Regions from separate parts of the Homo sapiens genome. Here region 1 is linked to region 2. Evidence: promoter capture Hi-C in human tissues and cell types (Jung and others, 2019). All regions are on one chromosome and are shown on one strand. The core of a region is centred on a gene start or on the middle of the fragment in contact, and the rest is flanking DNA. Distances in the headings are between cores, read along the strand shown.

Region 1 (5,779 bases), core at 494-2,993, 160 kb after region 2:
ATTCCACATCTAGGTTTCCACCTTAGAGAAACCCCCCCAGGGGTGTGCAAGGGTATTTACTGCAGCACTAATTAATGACAAAAAAAAAAAGGGAAACAACTTAGATTTCAGGCAATCAGAGGAGTAACTGAATAAAATGGAGTCTATTCATAAAATAAAATTAAAAGCAATTAAAGGAATGTGCTAGATTCACGCAGCAATATGGATAAATCTCAAGACGATCATGTTGAATGAGAAGAGTGTGTTGCAGAAAGCAGAGAAGAAGGTTATGTTGAAATTCTACCCCTTATGCTGATCAACACACACGAAGCAATACTACGAATTATCAGGGGTTTCTGTGTCTATGCCAAAGTTTAAAAATGGAACCAGAGAAGTGCACATTTAATTCATGATCATGTTTGCCTTGGCAGGATGAAAGAAAATAGAATTAGGAATGAGGAAGAAAGAGACTTTGAGTCTGGCTGTCATGTCATAATACATATGTGATTTAAATTTTATAAATTTCTAAAAAGGAAGACAAAGCAAGTAACATGAACAAATTGTCAGTTCTGCATGGTGGATAAGTAGGTGCATATGGGGTGCTGATTTTATGTTTTTCCTGTATCTTTAAAATTTCTCAACAAAATTAAAAATGAAAGCATATGCATAAAAATAAGCTGGAGGCCGGGCACTGTGGCTCACGCCTGTAATCCCAGCAGTTTGGGAGGCCGAGGCAGGTGGATCACTTGAGGTCAGGAGTTCAAGATCAGCCTGGCCAACGTGATGAAACCCCATCTCTACTAAAAATACAAAAATTAGCTGGGCCTGGTGGTGTGCATCTGTAATCCCAGCTACTCGGGAGGCTGAGGCAGGAGAGTTGCTTGAACCTGGGAGGCGGAGGTTGCAGTGAGCCGAGATTGCACCAATGCACTCCAGCCTGGGTGACAGAGTGAAACTCTGAAAAAAAAAAAAATCCCTGGAAAGGGCTCATTAGAAGGAAAAAGGTGATTCAGTCCTTTGGTCCCAACTTGTTGGGCCTCTAGGGCTAAAGAGTGTGGACTGAGGGTTCCACATCTCTTGGGATTCCCACCCTGGGAAACTCTACCCACAGTAGCTCTTACTCATCAGCCCAAACCAGGGAAGCCTGTGAGCAGTTGGTGTTGCTAAAATGTGGTATGTGAACAGGAGAAGGTGGGAATATAACAGGAAAAGGAGGCCAAGGAGCCACTCACGAGAGACTGGGGTGGCAGATGGAGCAATCAGGGTTGAAAGCACCTTTGGAGTTTTCCAGGGTGACAGAGGTAATGGGGAGGAAACACTCTAAGATGTGAGTGTGGTGCAAGTGAATGAACAAAGATGTGATGGACATGGGCTTTAGGGAGCAGGAAGCCGGCTCAGAGCAGCTAGAGAATGGAGTGGGTGCGGAAGGAGGTGAAGCTGGAGGTGCGTGTTTGGGCCAGATTATGCAAAAGCTGTGAGTACCGTGCCCAGCAGGGAGGACTCTATGCTAAGGGGCCAGGGAAGCAGCAGGCCTTGTAAGCCACCCTCTGGCAGCTGGCAAGGAGGCTGGGATGGAGAGGAGGCCCTGGAGGCAGGGGGTGTGGGAAGGTCCCACTGTCCAGGTGAGCATCCATGGGCAAGGCTGTTCTGAATTGCAGCAGTGCCAGTGAGGAGGAGGAGTGAAACTGGCTGGCAGGCACGACTGCAGTAATTACAAACACCTGCTTTTGGGCAGGCCCACAGCTTAGCACTTCACACAAGTGGATTTTTAAAATCCCAATATCCCTAGGAGGTAAGTATCACGTCCATCATCTCCATTTTACAGATGAGGAAAGGGAGGCCAAGGGAAGTTAAGAAGCTTGTGTGGGGCTCCACCACCAGACAGTGGCAGAGCCAGGCTTTTCACCCAAGCGGTCTCCATTGGAGGCCAAGACTGGACCACTGCATTGTGCTACCTCTAGGATAAACTCTGGGTAGAAACGTTGAAGCCCCCTTTGGGAAAAGATCAACTAATAAGGAGGTGATGGTGACCTGGCGCCCTCTAGCCTTTGAAGGAGACTTTACCATTTCCAAGGGGCTTTCATCCCAGCCTTGGTTCCAAAACCACTCTATGAGGTGCACAAGGCAGGTATCAGAATTCCTATTTTAGAGACAAGAAAACTGAGTCTTAGGTGGATTAAGGGACTCGACAAGCCCCCAGCTAGTGACCCCACTGTGCAGCCTGTCGATCTTCCAGCCTCTGGAATGGTCATCCATGCCCACTTCGGGCTGATCTTACACTGCTGTCACTTTAGGTTGGTCCTGAACTGTTGTCTCTTCCCCTCCTTTGCCTTGAAGCATCACAGAAGGCCTCGTGGTGTCTTTGTTTGTTTGTTTTTTTGTTTATTTATTTATTTATTTATTTATTTATTTATTTATTTATTTGAGATGGAGTCTCACTCTGTTGCCCAGGCGGGAGTTCAATGGCACGGTCTCGGTTCACTGCAAACTTTGCCTCCTGGATTCAAGTGATTCTCCTGCCTCAGCCTCCCGAGCAGCTGGGACTACAGGCGCATGCCACCACGCCCGGCTAATTTTTGTGTTTTTAGCAGAGACGGGGTTTCATTATGTTGGCAAGGCTGGTCTTGAACTCCTGACCTCATGATCTACCCGCCTTGGCCTCCCAAAGTGCTGGGATTACAGACATGAGTCACCGTTCCCAGCCCACAGTGTCTTCTTGACTCTACCTTGTCCTGGTGCCCTTCGCATCCCTGGTTTCACAGGAACGCCCTCCTGAGCACACACAGATCCCCTGGAGCCTTCTACTGTCTCCTCGCAGATACCTATTGATTAAAGCGCCAATCAGGCCTTTTGTTGGCCTCTGAGGCCATCTTTCCTCCAGGAGGCCCAATAGAGCAGTGCTTGTGGATATTTTTATGGGTCATGTTTTAAAAATTACATCCAAATTAAATTTGTGCTGATTTAATTAGAATATGGAAGCTGAGGGATTTCTTTATTGCTCTTCCTGCTGGGTCCTGGGCAAATGGCTTCTCTCTGGAAACTGCTGTGCTCACCACGAACAGATGTGGGGCAGGCTGGGCCATCCCTTGTCTGCCTGTAGATTAAATACCCTTAGGAAGTAGAAGGTCAAAACTGGAAGTGTCCTTGAGACCATCAAGTCCTCGTCCTTCCTTGCACAGAAGACAGGCTGAGCCCCAGAGATGGGCAACAAGCCACTTAAGGTCACATAGACAGGGCCAGATGGCCTTAACAATTCTGGCATCTCCTAGGAGCCTCTGTCCAGAGAAGAGGGTTGTCTGGTGAATAAGAATCTCTCCTTGGATGCTGTGAGGCACAGCAGAGCTGGAAGTCAAGGCCTCAGGAACGGCTTGAGGCTCAAGAGACCCCCAAGTAGCAACACCCCTAGATATGGCTTTAGGCACCATGCTTTCAGGGCTCTACCTCTCCAGCTCTCAGGTCTGCCTTCTCCTGAGCTGTTTTTAGCCTTAGGCTTTACTGGAAGCAGGACTAGCGTAGCAGCAGCAGACTTTATAACCTCTCATCTTGAAATATTTGGGCAAAAGGACTTTTTTTTTTTTTTGAGACAGAGTCTTGCTCTGTCGCCCAGGCTAGAATGCAGTGGCACGATCTCGGCTCACTGCAACCCCTGCCTCCCAGGTTCAAGCAATTATCCTGCCTCAGCCTCTGGAGTAGCTGGGACTACAGGTGCATGCCACTATGCCCGGCTAATTTTTGTATTTTTAATAGAGACAGGGTTTCACAATGTTGGCCAGGCTGCTCTGGAACTCCTAACCCATGATCCATCTGCCTCCCAAAGTGCTGGGATTACAGGCGTGGGCCACTGTGCCCAGCCAACATTTTTTTTTTACTTCCCCGAAGCCTCAACTGAACTCTCCAGTGGGGCATACCTCAGTCCTGCATCCCTTCTGGAGCTGAGGCAATCACAGGGCTGAGATCTAGGGGATGGTGGACCATCAGATAAAAATCGAAGGCTGTGATTACAAGAAGCCAGAAGGTGGGGTGGGGAGGAATGATAGCGCACCCCAAAACAGGTAGGACCACTGCGAAGCAGGTCAACATCGTCTTCAATGCACATGACATGGAAAGGCAATGGTTCAAATCCAAGTGTTACGACTTACAAGCTGTGCAGCCCTGAGCAAGTCAATCGATATCCCAAGCCTCATAAGGCTCATCTGAAAAACGGAGAAGCTAATCTTCACCTTATAGGGATTTTGTAGGAATTAGAGATATTAATATTATGTATACAAAGCACTTGACACAATGCCTGGCCTGGAGGAAGTCCGTAGTAGGTGGTGAGTTCTGATGGTGATGATGACAGCAGTGATGATGATGATGATGACAGCAGTGATGATGATGATGATGAGAATGATGATGATGATGACAGTGATGATGATGACAGCGATGACAATGATGATGACAGTGATGATGATGATGATGATGACAGTGATGATGATGATGATGATGACAGTGATGATGATGACAGTGATGGTGATGATGATGATGACAGTGATGGTGATGATGATGACAGTGATGATGATGATGATGTTGACAGCGATGGTGATGATGATGACAGCGATGATGATGACAGCGATGACGATGATGACAGTGTTGATGAAGATCTTGGGCTGTAGGTCTGCAAGTGGACACTCTGGTTTTCTTGGTGCCCAAAGGACTGTCTCACATACTTTTGGGTATCGAAATTGATCAGTAAGTTAAAGAATAAAAATAGCTAACAAGAAAAAAATCGAGTGTATCTTTTGGCACAAAACAGAATTGGTAAAGGCTCCAGGAAAAAGTTTCCATTCAAATGCCACTGTTCAATCTGAATATTTAAAAATATCTTCCTACTGAGCATATCCAGTTTCTGTTTCTTGGAATGAAAAGTAGATAACAAAAGTCAACAAACAACTGCCTTCCTTGGCATGTAACAACTACCACTGACTCACTGTCCCAGGCAAATCTGCTGTGGTTCTTTCCTTCTTAGATGAAAGACTCTGTGCTCCTTGAGGGAGATGCTGTTGGGGTCCACTCAATCCTGGAACCAATGAACATTCTTCTCCTTGGCAGAGCCCATGATGATGTACTGAGGCTCCAGATGTCAATCTTGGGCTTTGGTGCCCAGGGTGGAAGGAACCTCCCACCAAGCCTGACCTTGACCTCATGGCAGACAGTGGGTGAGCAGATCTGGCCACCTAACTTCCAGCACTCTTGTCTCTGTCATCTCCTTTGGTTTGCATGACAACTCAATGACTCCATGTGCTTTACAAGTGAGAATGTTGAGGTTCAGACAGGAAATCCAAGTCATCTAAGGTCACACAGCAAGAGAGTATCCGGGCCTATCACCTCCATCTCCTGCTTCCTAGCCATTCCTACTGTTGATGTCACATAAATGGACATTTGGAAAGTAAACTGACTATGGTACTGGAGCTGTTTGGGAGTAAAGAATCCACATCTCAAACATATGGCTCAAGCAATGTGCTAGGTACTCCAGAAAACACAGATTAGTGACACCCTTGCAGAACTTACATTGTTCCCAGGCAAAACAGTTCCCCATCTCCTCTTGTCAACAAAACCATGACAGAGCCAGAGTGAAAGGTCCCATTCTTAAGCAAGCTCTCGATGCTATCACCCCCTTCATTGTGGTTCCCAGTGCTTTACATCTACTTTCTGGGCCTTTGCCTCCTTTTCCTTGTATCATGACATTCACTGCCGGGTCTGTGCCTCAGACCTTGGCTGACAGGTGAAATTACTCAGACACAGGTATGCAGTGTAAGAGCAG
Region 2 (6,460 bases), core at 3,961-6,460:
GAAACAATGAATGCATGCATGCATAAAGAGGCCCTCCCTGCTTGGAGCTTTCCACCATCTTCCCTCACTCAGAATGGTAACTGGCAGGCCAGGTTAATGAAGAACAGTCTCCATGGCAACAAGTAAAGGGGGAAGAAACATTTTCTTATGAATGGGAAGCCTTTCCCTTTTGCCTTGCGTGGAGTGGTGGCTGGAGGGAGGGAAGGAGGCTGTACTCAGGGGAAGGAGGCTCCTAGTCCAGAGGTCGGTACATTGGCTTCTGTTCTTGGTAAGGAGGAAAAACCAGTCACTTTTTCCTAGCAGAGGCTTTTGGAGGGGGAGGGAATCCAGCATCACCCTTGCCTCCGTTGGGGAGGGGGACAAACGAGGAGCTCCAGCCCTGCTCTCCAGGGGCTCTTTGTCCAAGAGCAAACATTCCACTAGTTTCCTTGACCTCCTGAAACTGTCAATCTGATGGAAGACATAGACATTAAACACATCATTGTAAACAATTACAATGGGGCAAAATAGCATGAATGTGCAGTGCTAGGGAGAAGTGACAGGGTATAAGGGGCATGGGGAGATTGACAGGAGCTGGAGGTCAGGGTAGTCTTCCCTGAATGTGTGGTGTTTGAAGTGAGGAGCTAGTGGGCCAGTGGTTGGGAGTCTGGAGCATTGCCAAGCGTTAGGACTGGGGAAAGCCTAGACAAAAAGGGTGGGGCTGAGATGAGGGGCTGAGGGTAGGGGATGGGGTGGCAAGAGACAGGGTCTGTAGGCCAGAGAAGGAGCTTAAAATTTGTCCTGAAGGTGGTGGCAACTCTTTGCTGAATTTGAAGAGGGCAGTAGGTTATTAGATTGGCATTTTAATAAAGTCCATGAGGAGACTGGTTTGGGAGCAGCTATGGTTTTAATGTGTCCCCCAAATTTCATCTGTTGGAAACCGAATCCTCAAATTCGTATGTTGATGATATTTATGGGTGGGACCTTTGGAGGGTCATTAGGATTAGATAATATTATCAGGGTAGGACCCTGTGATAGGATTGGAGGCTTTACAAGAAGAGGAATGGAGACCTGAGCTGATGTGCGTGCTCTTGTCCTCTCACCATGTGATGCCTTCCACCACGTTATGATGCAGCAAGAAGGCCCTCACCAGATGCCAGCACCATGCTCTTGGATTTCCCAGCATCCAGAACTATGAGCTAAATAAATGTCTTTTTTAAAAAAATAAATTATGCATTCTGTGGTGTTCAGTTATAATCACAGAAAATGAACTAAGACAGGGGGCAAAGGGTTTCTGGGGCATCAGTCTGTAGCCTGTGGCACAACTCCAGGCACAGACCAGGAGTGAATCCTCATTCTTCTCAGCAGGGAAACCAACCCCCCTGGCATCGGCTTCAACATCCCCTTTTCTTCTCGCCCCCACATCCCCCAATCAGCTACAGGCTACATCTATCAGTTCTACTGTTTAAACATCTCTGCAATGTGTGTGTGCCCTTCGACCCTCTACAAAGGGAAACAACAGAAACAGTGGGAGAGTTTTAAGAAGTGTGAGAAGAGACATGATTGGATCCTTTTCACTGTGAATTATATCACCGATAGAAAACTGCCTAAGACATAAAATCTAGTGTCATGAATACAGTGAGTCCTTACTTAATGCTGTCAATAGGTGTTTGAAAACTGACTTTAGGCCGGGCGTGGTGGCTCACGCCTGTAATCCCAGCACTTTGGGAGGCCAAGGTGGGTGGATCACCTGAGGTCAGGAGTTTGAGACCAGCCTGGCCAGTGGCCAATGTGATGAAACTCCGTATCCACTAAAAAAAAAAAAAAAAAAAAAAAAAAAAATAGCTGGGTGAAGTGGCAGGCACCTGTAATCCCAGCTACTTGGGAGGCTGAGGCAGGAGAATCACTTGAACCCAGGAGGTGGAGGTTGCAGTGAGTCAAGATCGCGCCATTGCACTCCAGCCTGGGTGACAAGAGCAAAGTTCCATCTCAGAAAAAAAAAAAAAAAAAGAAGACTGACTTTAAATGAAATGACATATAAGGAAACCACCTTTTTTTCTCATCAACATTATAATGAAATGATGACATTGATTGAAACGATGTTATTTGAGGACCTGATGTATGTCCTTTCATTTCAGACTGCAGTTTCCAAGAACCTAAAAGGACATTAAGTGAGGACTTACTGTACTTATAAAGCCAACACCCATGTAACCATCACCTAGGTCAAGGGTGAGCACTGCCAGCATCCCAGAAGCAGACACTTGCCACCCGCAAGTGACAAGTGTGTTCTTCCTGTCTCCTTAGACTTTTATGATAAATACTTTTATTTTCCTTTGTAGTTTTGATACGGCTCTGATGACTGGAGGAACTCCAGGGTTCTTGGTCTTGCTCCAATAGGATTAACAACACGAACATACGTGGAGTAGTTTTAAGGAGTGAAAAGTTTAATAGGCAAGAAAGAAGGAAGGAAGAAGAGAATAGCCCCCCCATACAGAGACAGAGGGGGGGGATTTGAACAAAGAGAAAACCCCCTGTTTAGGGTGAGGGTGGTGGGAAGTAGCTGCTTATATGAGGAGGCTGAGGAGGTGGTGTCTGATTTCCATAGGGCCCAGGGGATTGGTTTGACCAGGTGTGTCATTTACAAACCCCGCAAAACACCTGGCCTTCCCACCTTAGTCCTTTAATATGCAAATGTGGGTCGCTATGATGTTCTGAACACAAGGTGTTATCTGGAGGTGGCCACGACACTCGGTACACCTGGTGACAGGGAAAAGACAGCAGGAATCTCCATATGAGTGAACCCAGTTTCTAATGGCCAGCATTTGCATGTCAAGGTTTGCCAGCCTGGCCCTTTAAGCAGCCTTTTCTGTTAGAAAAGAGATGGTTTGGGGGCTTGTTTTTTATTGCAGGAAAATTTCCACCAAGAACCTTTACCCTTACTATCTGCCTAAAAATTATTTCTTAATAATTCCTGTATTAGTTTTACTAAGTATCCATTTTACCTATGCATGCAGACCTCTCTAGGTTGCCGTGTGGCTGGAGAAAGGATGGAAGAGAGAAGGGGAAGGTTTTCAGCAGCCTTCTGCCTTCCAGGGATGGAGACTGGACCCTTGGGGATCTGGCCAGGATTCCCTGGGCCTGACCAGTTGGCCCAGGTTTGGTCTCCTCTATGCCAATGACTCCTCACGGGAAGCAAGACTTTCATGAGTGCCGGATTTCAGGGTGCCATTCACTGCTGCAGCCCTCCCAACTTCCCCTGAGAAGGAGCAGGAGAGGTCAATTTTCTCATTTCAGTTGGGAAAATGCAGTTAGAGAAAACGAGAGACATCCAAGGCAACAAGGTCAGTAAATAGGAAAGGATCAGCCCTTTGAACTTAGCTGTATCTGGCTCAGTCCAGTCTTCTTCTTCTTCTTCCTTCTTCTTCCCTCTTCCCTCTTCCCTCTTCCCTCCTCCTCCTCCTCCTCCTCTTCCTTCTCCTTCTTCTTCTTCTTCTGACACAGTCTCACTCTGTGCCCCAGGCTGGAGTGCAGCAGCATGATCTTGGTGCACAGCAACCTTCATCTCCTGGATTCAAGCGATTCTCCTGCCTCAACCTCCTGAGTAGCTGGGATTACAGGTGCCCACCACCACATCCGACTAAGTTTTGTAATTTTAGTAGAGATGGGGATTCATCATGTTGGCCAGGCTGGTCTCTAACTCCTGATCTGAGGTGATCCACCTGCCTTGGCTCCCAAAGTCCTAGGATTACAGCCATGAGCCACTGCACCCAGCCTAGTCTAGCATTTTTTGTTTTGTTTTGTTTTTTTGAGACAGAGTCTCGCTGTGTTGCTCAGGCTGGAGTGCAGTGGCACGATCTCAGCTCACTGCAACCTCCGCCTCCCGGGTTCAAGCGAGGCTCCTGCCTCAGCCTCCTGAGTAGCTGGGATTACAGGTGCGCACCACCATGCCTGGGTAATTTTTGTATTTTTAGTACAGACTACTAAAAATACAAAACTCCTGACCTCAGGTGATCCACCTACTTCAGCCTCCTTAGTCCCGTGTTTTTATCTCTCCCTGTAGCAGAGTCCTGCACCCCTTCCCTCTGCAACCGGTGAGCCTGGTGTCAGGAAGAGAATGGTTTCGTGGAGCTGAGTCCAGTGCCCTCAGGGTGCGGAGGTGTAGGAGCTTGAACTGGCCACACGGTGGTGCCAAACACCAGGTCTTCGCATTTATGTTTCCCAGCCCTTCTGGGCGTCCCTGATGCCCTCAATAAACTCTGCCTGGTTCCCAGGGCACAGGGCTAAGGGCCTCCAAAGGGGAGGGGAGGGGAGGGGAGGGGAGGGGATACCCACCCTTCCCCCAGCCAGACCTTGCAGGGGAGGCAGGAGCGGGGCTGCGGAGGGCGCCTCAACTTTACCCAAACCCACCCCGCCTTTCGTTCTCCGTCTTCCTTCTCTCCCAAGCCAGAAACCTGTCCCCTCTTGCCTTGGGCCACCATCGCAGGGCCTCCTGAAGGCAGATTCTGGGGAGGGGAGGGGGAACAGGGAAAGCAGAAAGGTGGCTGGATGGCAAAGGGCAGCTGTCACCCCGGCTGGCCTGGGGTCCTCGGGGACTTAGAGTCTGGGCCCAGCCCATGCCTCCCCTCCTTTTCCCCTTCAGTGGCCTCCAGGCCTCTCTCCACATCGCCAGGCTGGAGTGCAGTGGCGCTATCTTGGCTCACTGCAACCTCCGCCTCCCGGGTTCAAGCGATTCTCCTGCTTCAGCCTCCCGAGTAGCTGGAACTACAGGCGCCCGCCACCACCCCCGGCTAATTTTTGTATTTTTAGTAGAGATGGGGTTTCACCATATTAGCCAGGATGGTCTCGATCTCTTGACCTTGTGATCTGCCCGCCTCGGCCTCCCAAAGTGCTGGGATTACAGGCGTGAGTCACCGCGCCTGGTCCCCTGTCTTCTTTAAGAAAGCTCAGCGGACCTTTTTCCTTCTTGGGGTGGAACAAAAAGCCAAATCTAGCACAACCCTGGGCAGGGGCCCAGAATCACTGGAAGCAAAGGTGGATGGGATAGGAGGCGAGGCTGCCTGTGGACCACAGGCCCGGCCCGAGTGGCTCTGATGAGAAGCCGGGGCGCCTAGGTCACCGCCCCCACCGTCTGCCCTTCCCCCCACTCCTCCTGGCTGGGTAAATCCCAGAGTCTCAGCCGCCTAAGTGTCTTCCCCGGAGGTGAGATTATCTCCGCCTGTGCTGGACACCTCCCTTTCTCCTGCAGCCATGGATGCCGCTCTGCTCCTGAACGTGGAAGGGGTCAAGAAAACCATTCTGCACGGGGGCACGGGCGAGCTCCCAAACTTCATCACCGGATCCCGAGTGAGTGGGGCCCCTCCGGAGCAGACAGGGTCCCCCACAGCAGCTTTCAACATTCCAGGTGTGCCCCAAGGCACTGTAAACAGCTTTCAGCTGTGCCAAAAAAACAGCCAGGCAGCCCCAGCGCTGGGCCTCCGGGGAGCTCCCAGCGTTTACCCATTCAGGGGGCATTTTTGGTACTTTGCAGATTCAACTTTAGCATGGGCTGAGGGGAAGGGCTTTTGGGAATTTTCTGGGGCCCTAAATGTTGAGTGAGAAGAAAGGGAGTCCGAGGAGTCTTGGTATTTGTCCCCAAATGTCTGTTAGGCTTCCCTGGACTGAAGGGTGCGTCTGTGGCTACAGAATTCGGGCTTTGGCCAGGCGAGGCGGCTCCCGCCTGTAATCCCAGCACTTTGGGAGGCCAAGATGGGCAGATCATGAGGTCAAGAGTTCGAGACCAGCCTGACCAACATGTGAAACCCCATCTCTACTGAAAATACAAAAATTAGCCAGATGTGCTGGGCGCCTGTAATCCCAGTTCAGATACTCAGGAGACTGAGGCAGGAGAATCACTTGAGCCCAGGAGGTGGAGGTTGCAGTGAGCCGAGATCATACCACTGCACTCCAACCTGGGCAACAGAGTGAGACTCTGTCTCAGAAAAAAAAAAAAAAAAAAGAACTCGGGCTTACTTGAGGAAGGATTTCTGGACGCACAGGGCTGTGGGGAGTGGAATGGGGTCTGTAGGGAGGGGTGGGTCCCTCCTCCCTGGGGGGTGCAGGCAGGGTGGAGGTGCTCCAGGGGTCTGAGGCATCTGATGGGGTGAACTGAGTGAGCTGACCCTGGGGACAGCCCTGGGTGTCGGTGGCAAGGGGGTGGCTTCTGCCGGGCCTTGAACAGTGTGTCTAGAGCAGAGTGCACCGTCTCGGTGACTAGGTGATCTTTCATTTCCGCACCATGAAATGTGATGAGGAGCGGACAGTCATTGACGACAGTCGGCAGGTGGGCCAGCCCATGCACATCATCATCGGAAACATGTTCAAGCTCGAGGTCTGGGAGATCCTGCTTACCTCCATGCGGGTGCACGAGGTGGCCGAGTTCTGGTGCGACACCATCGTAAGTAGGCCCTGCGCGCCTGTCTCCTGGGACTAGTCTTTTCTGGGC

What was found. Contacts are between HindIII fragments. The study calls those that stand out against the background at their distance.
Region 1: a fragment that was not itself captured here is called in contact with the fragment with the promoter of AIPL1 in region 2 in 1 of the 25 tissues and cell types used here (H1 embryonic stem cells).

The regions. Positions count from the first base shown.
Region 1 is chr17:6,273,148-6,278,926 of GRCh38, reverse strand. No RefSeq gene overlaps it. Among named protein-coding and RNA genes, the nearest start is that of AIPL1, 160 kb to the left of the region's middle. The HindIII fragment of the contact is 4,330 bases long and covers 1-3,908 here.
Region 2 is chr17:6,433,871-6,440,330 of GRCh38, reverse strand. AIPL1 (AIP like 1 HSP90 co-chaperone) reads left to right here and starts at 5,210. Exons shown (of 6, transcript NM_014336.5): 1 at 5,210-5,322; 2 at 6,233-6,412. The coding sequence starts at 5,227. LOC107985017 (a long non-coding RNA gene) reads left to right here. Exons shown (of 3, transcript XR_001752776.2): 3 at 2,994-3,033. The HindIII fragment of the contact is 7,871 bases long and covers 2,366-6,460 here.